3 separate regions of the Homo sapiens genome follow, and all the other regions are linked to region 3. The links are contacts of gene promoters, found by promoter capture Hi-C in blood cells and fetal thymus (Javierre and others, 2016). All regions are on one chromosome and are shown on one strand. Each heading gives the region's core, a stretch centred on a gene start or on the middle of the fragment in contact. The rest is flanking DNA. Distances are from core to core; before and after follow the strand shown. Region 1 overlaps INTS6 (integrator complex subunit 6). Region 2 overlaps INTS6 (integrator complex subunit 6). Region 3 holds the start of NEK5 (NIMA related kinase 5).

Region 1 (2,700 bases), core at 164-2,663, 740 kb after region 3:
ATATTTTTATATTCCAAGTATGATGTGAAGCCTTTTGAAGGCTTTTTACGGGAGGTGACGTCTGATTTCTATTTCTGAAATACCACTTCACCTGTTAGATGAGAATATAGAGTGGCAAGAATGAAAGCAGGAAGACTAGTAGTAGTACTTTGTTCTATGCTAGCTTTGGAGGTCCTGAGAGGTGGCTTAATGCAAAAGAGAACCAAGGATGAGGACAATAAGGGAAGAAGCAATCCAGGATGGTTCCCAGATGATTCAGTTGGTCCGAACCACTAGAGATGGATGGCTGTGCCAAGGACTGAGATGGTACACTGGGGAGAAGCAGGTTTAGGGGAGGTGCAAGGATGATAGCAAATTTTAAAATGTGTAATAGACATGTTGTTAAATATATCAAGAATTTTTTAAGTATTTTATAAAAATTATAGATATTTCTAGATTAAATACATTTAACTTTCTTAGCCTCTGTAAGGACTATTGACCAACTTAGAAATGTTCATTTGCTTCTTCTCTATTTGACAAAGATGCTAATACTGCCTTTAGACTCACTATATTTAGTTTGACTTTTTTGTGGACTCTACATAACCCAAAGTGAGACAGCTTCTTGACTTGAAGGTGTGTGCTAATAAAACTTTTTTCACAAATACAAGTAGTGATCCTAGAAACTTTATGCATTAGCACAAAGTGTTGTATATCCCAAGGAGTAAGTTTTGACATAGACAATAAGTACACATGAGGAACATTACGGAGGATATAGGCTCACTTTGTAAAGAAAGCAAAATTTGCTATTTCTGTTTAACTTTTAAAATAATTAATAGATTTTTATTACCAAATGACTCATTTTATTCTTTTTCTCCAATTTTTGTAAAATATACTGATTAGTAATTTTATTTCGTGTTAAGATTGATTTGCTTATGTTTTCTTAATTGATGACACAACTTAGGAGAGCAAGATAATTGTCATAGTTTATATACTTTAAAATTTTTGCTTTTTAATGACATCTTAGGAATATGCTTAAATTTCATGAAATAAGATACTCAACCTTTATGTAAACTTCTAATATTTTGCATGTAAAGATGGTTAGCCTTTTTATGGATTGCTTTTTGTATATACTTAAATTGACTTAGAAAAAAATTTGAATTTACCAATTCTTTCAAGTAAGCATGACTTCATATAGATGCTGTATTTTAAGTACTGATTTCAAATTCACAGAGGATTTCCAAGGGACAAAGGATATCCAGAATAGTTTCTGATACACTGTAAGGGTTTGAATTGTAACTCTATCACTATACTAACTTGGAAAAGTTAGTTAGCCTCTCTGTGCCTTAGTGTTCTCATTTGTAAAATGGGGAAAATAACCCATACAATTGTTGCTGAGATTAAAGAAATTAATAATCATAAAATGATTGGAACAGTGCCAGGCACGTAGATACTCAGTAATTGGTAGATATTTGTTAAGGTTATAATCATCATTATTTTATACAGTTAAGTTGTTGTATTTATTTTTTCTAAGTAAAGCTGACTTTGAGGATTTGAATCACCATTGTCTATAATGTTCTCTTTTCTGAGTAGCCTTTAACAAATCACGTTAAGTGTAAGTTGATATAAGTAATTTGATGTGTCAAATGTAATGATGTAGCTTGTGTTGTGAAATAATTGGTTGAATGTGTAAAAGAGTAGGGCATCATATTGAGCTTATTACAAATAATGTTGCAAAATATTTGGCCAAAGATTGAGTTTTAGCTGTCAAGGTTTTTAGTGTTGGTCTGGATCAGAACTGTATAATAGAAATCTGATTCAAATTTCATATGTAATAAAAAATTTCATAGTAGCCACTTTAAAAATTAAAAATAGATGAAATTAATTTTAATAATATATTTTATTTAAATCAATATATCCTTATTACTTCAGTGTGAGATTGATATTTTAAAATTACTAATGAGATGTTTTATATTTTTTCATACTAAGTCAACAAAATCAGGTGTATATTTTACTTACTATACATTTCAATTCAGACTAGCTATATTTCAAGTTCTCAATAGCTACATGTGTCTAGTATATAAAGTATTGTATAGCAAAGGTCTAGATATTTTTGTTGAAAATTCCTCTTTAAAAGATCTTTTCACTGGTATCTTTTTAAAAAAATCACTAGTATTTAATGCTTCTGAACCAAAAGTAGTATAAGTTAAAACGTACAAAAGGGGAATTCACGTGAGACAGGTAATTCCCAAGTGTTTACATAAGCTAAGTGAAATTCAGAAAAGCACACGCTACCATCTGTATATTAAAATGCAAATATTTAAAATACTTAAAAACTGCCAGTAAACAAGTAGTTATTACATACCTACTATGTGCACAGTAAATCTTAGTGATAATACTTTTGTTAAGCAGGAATAAGATTTTGGGGAGACAGTTACTAGATGTGTGTGTGTATATGTGTTAAAGATAAATTGTATTGCATAACAGTTGGAGATAGTGTTTTTTATATATATGTTTTAAAAAACATAAAATATGTGACTTGTTTTCATGTGTTTTGTTCAGACCAAGAATTCTATGTTCCAAATACCTGTAATTAGAAGAAAAAATGTACATACTCTCACAAAATGGGATTGTTGGTTGGTTGGAAATAATGATTTTTGTGCATTCTTTCATAAGATAATGAAATTAGTCAACTTTTACCATTGAACTTTTGTTAATTAGTAC
Region 2 (2,700 bases), core at 170-2,669, 720 kb after region 3:
AGTGTTGAGGTTTATTTTTGACATATGGATAATTAATTGTATCAGCATTTTTATTGGAGAGATTATCATTTCCTCATTGCTGAAGCATCTTTATTGAGTCAATTAGCCATGTTTTTGTGTGGCTGTTTCTGGACTTTCTATTCTGTTTTGTTGATAACCTGTGTCTTCGGCAATACAACATGGTGTCAACTACTGTGGTTTTATAACGAGTTTTGAAATCATTTAGTTAAGTCTCCAACTTTGTTTTTATCCAAATTGCTTTGTTTATTCTAGGTCCTTTGAGTTTACATGTAAATTTAGAATCAGGTTTATTAGTTTTTATAAGAAAGCTTACTGCAATTTTTATTGGAATTACATTGAATCTATAAATCAGTTTGAGGGAAAAATGACACTTTTTACCTTATTGGCTATTCTGATCCATGAGCATGGCATATTTTTCAGATTTAAGTGTTTGATTTTTTCAGCAATATTTGTAGTTTTCAGATGGGAGTTTATACATATGTTGGGTATTTTATATATTTTGATGTTATTATTGATTGGTCTTTTTACTTTCAACTTCTGATGATTTGTTGTTAGTACATAAACAGTTGATTTTTTTGCATCTTTACCTGGTATCCTGTGACCTTTCTAAATTTTCTTGTTACCTAGTAGCTTTTCTAGATTCCTTGAAGCTTTTTACGTACAAAATCATCTTGTCTGAATATAGACAGGTACACTTCTTCCTTTCCAAATCTGTCTGCCTTTTATTTCTTTTTCTTGCTTCAATGTACTGGTGGAAGTAGTGAGAATGGACATTGTTGTCTTGTCTTGAAATCTAGAAGCTTAACATTAATTTGTTAACATTAACATTTAATTTTAAGGAACACCAATTGTTCCTTAAAATTAAAAAAAATACTACCTATGATGAATTAGCATTGTAACAAAAAAAATACAAATAATAAATTACCTAACCTATATCAGACAGCACAAATAAAGGCAGTTGACATTGCCAAATTTCTGAGAAAACAAATAAAACTATCAAAGCTATGAGATGGTATCATAACTGTTTCACTGACTATGAAAAACTGTTACTGAGGAATCTAATATCTGTCCAAAGCCAACATTTAAAAGATAAGTGTTATATTGGCTGGTAGTTTGTAATTGAAATAAGAATATAAATATTCTCCTAGAAAGTACGAATGAAATACTCAGAGTCTTTAGTATACCTTGAAGTTATACTATTATTATTATTATTATTATTATTATTATTATTATTATTATTATTATTATTTGAGACGGATTCTCACTCTGTCACCCAGGCTGGAGTGCAGTGGTGCAATCTCGGCTCACTACAACCTCTGCCTCCACTGTGCCCAGCTGAAATTACATTTTTCAAACTCATGGTGCTAAAAAGGTCAAGATCATTAAGCACACGTTATAAAATATGACCCTGATGCTCTGCTTAACTTCTAATGGCCAAAAGGAATTTAATTAGTAGACTTAGTCTGGGGAAGGCGTAGACTCAAACTCTGTGATACTCAAATGCTATGGAGCTATGATATGGAAGAAGAAAGGGATATGCAGCTGCCTAGATAATTTTATGCTATAGTTGGAAAAATTTTTATGCACATTTAATGTTAAATTTGGGGAAGCAAAGAAATATATTAAAGTGATGATACACCTTAGAATTTAAGTTATAGGTTTTAGGTTTGTTGGAGGATTAAATAAGATGATTAAAGCAAGGTAACTCATTGAAACCTTGTCACATTATAAGCATTCAGTAAATGATGAATTATCAGTCTCTTAACTTGTGTGATTATGGGCAATATTTGGTGTGGTCAAAAGGTCTTTAAGTTTTTTTCCTACTTCTTTGAGTTATCAAGAAAGAGATTATTATTTTTTAATACAACCTAGTTTCACAAATAGGGACATACATAACATACTACAGAAGGTTTCTGTTGATGTTTTTGTGCTTGAGGCATTAAGTGCTCTCAGTTACCTGGAAAAATAATGGCTCTCCAAAATGATTCAAAGCTTTTCCTTTATAATTTTTAAGATTCCTGGCCAATGTGCTTTAAATGAACTTTCTGACTTATTAATAAAACTCAATGACCGGGTGCAGTGGCTCTTGCCTGTAATCCCAGCACTTTGGGACACCAAGGAGGGTGGATCACCTGAGGTCAGGAGTTCAAGACCAGCCTGGCTAACATAGTGAAACCCCGTCTCTACTAAAAATACAAAAAGTTAGCTGGGCATGGTGGCAGGCGCCTGTAATCCCAGCTACTCGGGAGGCTGAGGAAGGAGAATCACTTGAACCTGGGAGGCAGAGGTTGCAGTGAGTCGAGATTGCACCACTGCACTCCAGCCTGGGCAACAAGAGCGAAACTCCATTTCAAAAAAAAAAAAAACCCATCTCAATGGTTTATTCTAGTCTAAATGTTTTATGGTAGATTCTGAATAATTTGGGCTATTATTTAACAATTATCTATAGTTATACTTTAGCATTGAAAATGTTATTGTACTTTTTTTTTTTTTTTTGAGACCGAGTCTCACTCTGTTGCCCAGGCTGGAGTGCAGTGGCACGATCTTGGCTCACTGCAACCTCTGCCTCTTGGGTTCAAGCGATTCTCCAGCCTCAGCCTCCCGAGTAGCTGGGATTACAGGCGTGTGCCACCATGTCTGGCTAATTTTTGTATTTTTAGTACAGACGAGCTTTTGCTG
Region 3 (2,700 bases), core at 128-2,627:
TCCAGGTCTTAAAGAGATGAATTTTCAATACAATTTTATTTTTTATATTTAATAATTATCAGTATTGTGATACATTTTATTGTGATCAATTGTGTAGTACTAGTAATTTTAACAATTTAATCCAGAAAAACTAAAATTCTATGAGCAGGAAATATAAATTTCCATTTCTGTACTTCTTTCAGCAGTATGATAGGATGATCAATAAGACTTTCAAGTATGAAAAAGATAACGGGTAAAATTCTATCAGGAAAGTAGAATGAAGATATGATTTAATGAAGCATGTCTAAGAATTCTAGGGAAGAAATTTGGGTGTGGTCACTGACACGTGTAATTAAACAAAAACAAGTAGATCATATACCTACTAATATTTTGAGGGAATTTCACTGCCAAAGAAACTAACATTGGATATTCCAACTGCTAAACAACTTTTGGACTCCTGCTACGGGCTGCATTCACCCCCGCCGCGGCCACCCCCAATTCACACACTGAAATCTAACACCAATAACTAATAATGAGACTATATTCGGAGACAGAGACTTTAAAGATGCAATTAGATCAAAATGAGGCCTTTAGTTCAGCCCTAATCCAACTTGACTAGAGTGCTTACAAGAAGAAGAAATTTTTTGTGGCAGGGACGGGGAGGGGGCGGCGGAGAGATGATTTTAAGAAGGAAGAGTAATGATGTAAACTTAGGATTTTTAAGAGTTTTTTGTGGGTTTTTTTTGTGTGTGTGTGTGAGGTGGACGATGGAGGGTACCATATTACTGTAGTGTTTCGATTCAGTTGGATATATTTAACTTGCGTCACTATTTACAATTGCTGAAAATTACATTTTTTTCAACTACTTAAACATTTTAGACAGCAGCTTGATGTGCAAATCCAGAATGGGGCAGGGTGGGATGAGCACTGGGCGTGAGTGCAGACGCTTGGGCAGCGCCGGTTTCGTTAGAAAGTCCCTTGGCAGGCCGCCGCTGTGGCCCAAAGAGTAGGAAGCCGTTCCAGTCTCACGTCCACCTTTTGGCAATATTTGAGACCTTGTACAAGAAACACTCTTCCTGTATCAGTTTAGCTCATTTGTAAAACTGGGAGACTACTGCCTTGACGGGTTGTAAAGAAAAGAGAGAACGTTTGCGAAGCGTCTGGTGCACCTTAAGCAAGAGCGGGGAGCGCTACTGTAGACTGCAAAGCAAAGGAATCCCGACCCAAGGCAACGGGACGGTTGCGGGGTGACTCTGCCGGGTCTCCAAACTCCCTGGCGCCTGACCCTGCCTCGAGGTGGACTGGTCCCCAGGCCATTCCAGACCCGCGCCCCGCCCGCGTTTCCTTGCGCGGCTCCGCCCCGGCCGCAGGGAGGCGCAGCGGCCCCGGGAACCCGGATCCTTCCGGGACGCTTCGTTGGCCCCGCGGAGCCGGCGGAGCAGGTACGCTTGCAGGGGCCGCCCTTAGTTCTTGCCCGGAGCCGCCACAGGGCTTCGGGAGCTCGGCAGGGTGGGGGAAAGGGATGGAGTTTCGGCCTGGGGCGGCGGGGGCGGCCCAGAAAAGGCCTAGCGTCCTGGGCTGTGTGGGTGTAGCGTCCAGGGCGCGTCGGTCTCTATGGCAACGCTCCACACGCGGAGGTCGGGTACGGGTAAGCGTCTTGCCACTCACCCGCGGCCGCTTCCAGGGGCGGCCCTAGGGGAGAAGGAATTTTCCTAATTTGGGGGCTTCCACCCTTTGGTGCCACTTGGGCGGGAGGGTCGCGGGCCCTCAGTTCCCGGCGAGTCACCCCCGGCCCCAAGTCCGTATGCGTCTCTCTCAGAACCCGATCCTCCGGTGTCTGCAGCCTCTCCTGGCTGCGGAGCTGGTTCCCAGCCCCCTGCAACCCAGTACCGACTTCCCACCCTGACGTAAAATTATTCGAAAACAAGCCCCCTGCTCACCCCATTAACAACAACAACAAAACTGTATTATGCCCTAACTGTAGCATAAAGAGGAAATAGAAGGAAAGCAATAAGTAAGAAAGTACATATTTCAATCTGAAAATGCTTGGCACTACTACCCTTGGAAAATGTAGAGAAGTAGCCAGTAGCCGCGCCTGGGGAGTCGCCTGAACGTGACGGCAGCAAATGCAGATTGTTGGGTCTCCGGGACCAGGAGCAGCGTGGCCAGTGAAGCGCGTGGTTTTCCCAAATGGTGAACAATTCTTGGTAAACCTCCAAACCGAAGTGCAATCAAGCCTTGATTTACATGTAGTTGCATTCCTCGAAAAAAAAAAGAAGTGTTCATTAAAACTGCAAAAATACTTAGCATTTCGATGTAAAATAGAGTTTGGTTCTAGCCACAAACGGATTTTTCCACGCACAGGAATGTATAGGAAGACTCTCCAAGATTGTAGGGCCGCGGGGTAATCCTTTATTGTGCGGGACTGTCTCTCGAATCGCAGAATCCTACCATCTCAGGCCCCAACCACCTGTAAACCTCATGCCTCTGAATCTTGGGGAAACAGCTTCCCCACCCCCATATATTTCCAGAATTCCCCCTAGGGGGCAGTACGTCCCCACTAAGAAAGGCTGAACTATAAAAGTGCACAAGCCTAAGGACATTCCTGCTTTATAAAGGTGCGAAACACCGGATATAGTATCTTTCATTCTCAGAACAAACTTGCAAAACAGGTATTGTTATTCCATTTTAGAAATTAGGAAAGTGAGGTTTTGCCAGGTT

The links. Contacts are between HindIII fragments. The CHiCAGO score rates a contact against its expected background, and 5 or more counts as called.
Region 1: a fragment that was not itself captured here is called in contact with the fragment with the promoter of NEK5 in region 3 in 2 of 17 cell types (neutrophils and total CD4 T cells); the score reaches 6.4 in neutrophils.
Region 2: a contact is called between a fragment that was not itself captured here and the fragment with the promoter of NEK5 in region 3, in 2 of 17 cell types (total CD4 T cells and total CD8 T cells). The highest score is 7.5, in total CD4 T cells.

The regions. Positions count from the first base shown.
Region 1 is chr13:51,389,552-51,392,251 of GRCh38, reverse strand. The region is part of intron 5 of INTS6 (integrator complex subunit 6); the gene reads left to right. Among named protein-coding and RNA genes, the nearest start is that of MIR5693, 42 kb to the right of the region's middle. The HindIII fragment of the contact is 3,957 bases long and covers 1-2,700 here.
Region 2 is chr13:51,407,834-51,410,533 of GRCh38, reverse strand. All of the region lies in intron 4 of INTS6 (integrator complex subunit 6), which reads left to right. Among named protein-coding and RNA genes, the nearest start is that of INTS6, 44 kb to the left of the region's middle. The HindIII fragment of the contact is 1,192 bases long and covers 824-2,015 here.
Region 3 is chr13:52,127,750-52,130,449 of GRCh38, reverse strand. NEK5 (NIMA related kinase 5) reads left to right here and starts at 1,377. Exons shown (of 24, transcript NM_001365552.1): 1 at 1,377-1,421. LOC101929657 (a long non-coding RNA gene) reads right to left here and starts at 1,555. Exons shown (of 2, transcript NR_110306.1): 1 at 1-1,555. The HindIII fragment of the contact is 11,669 bases long and covers 1-2,700 here.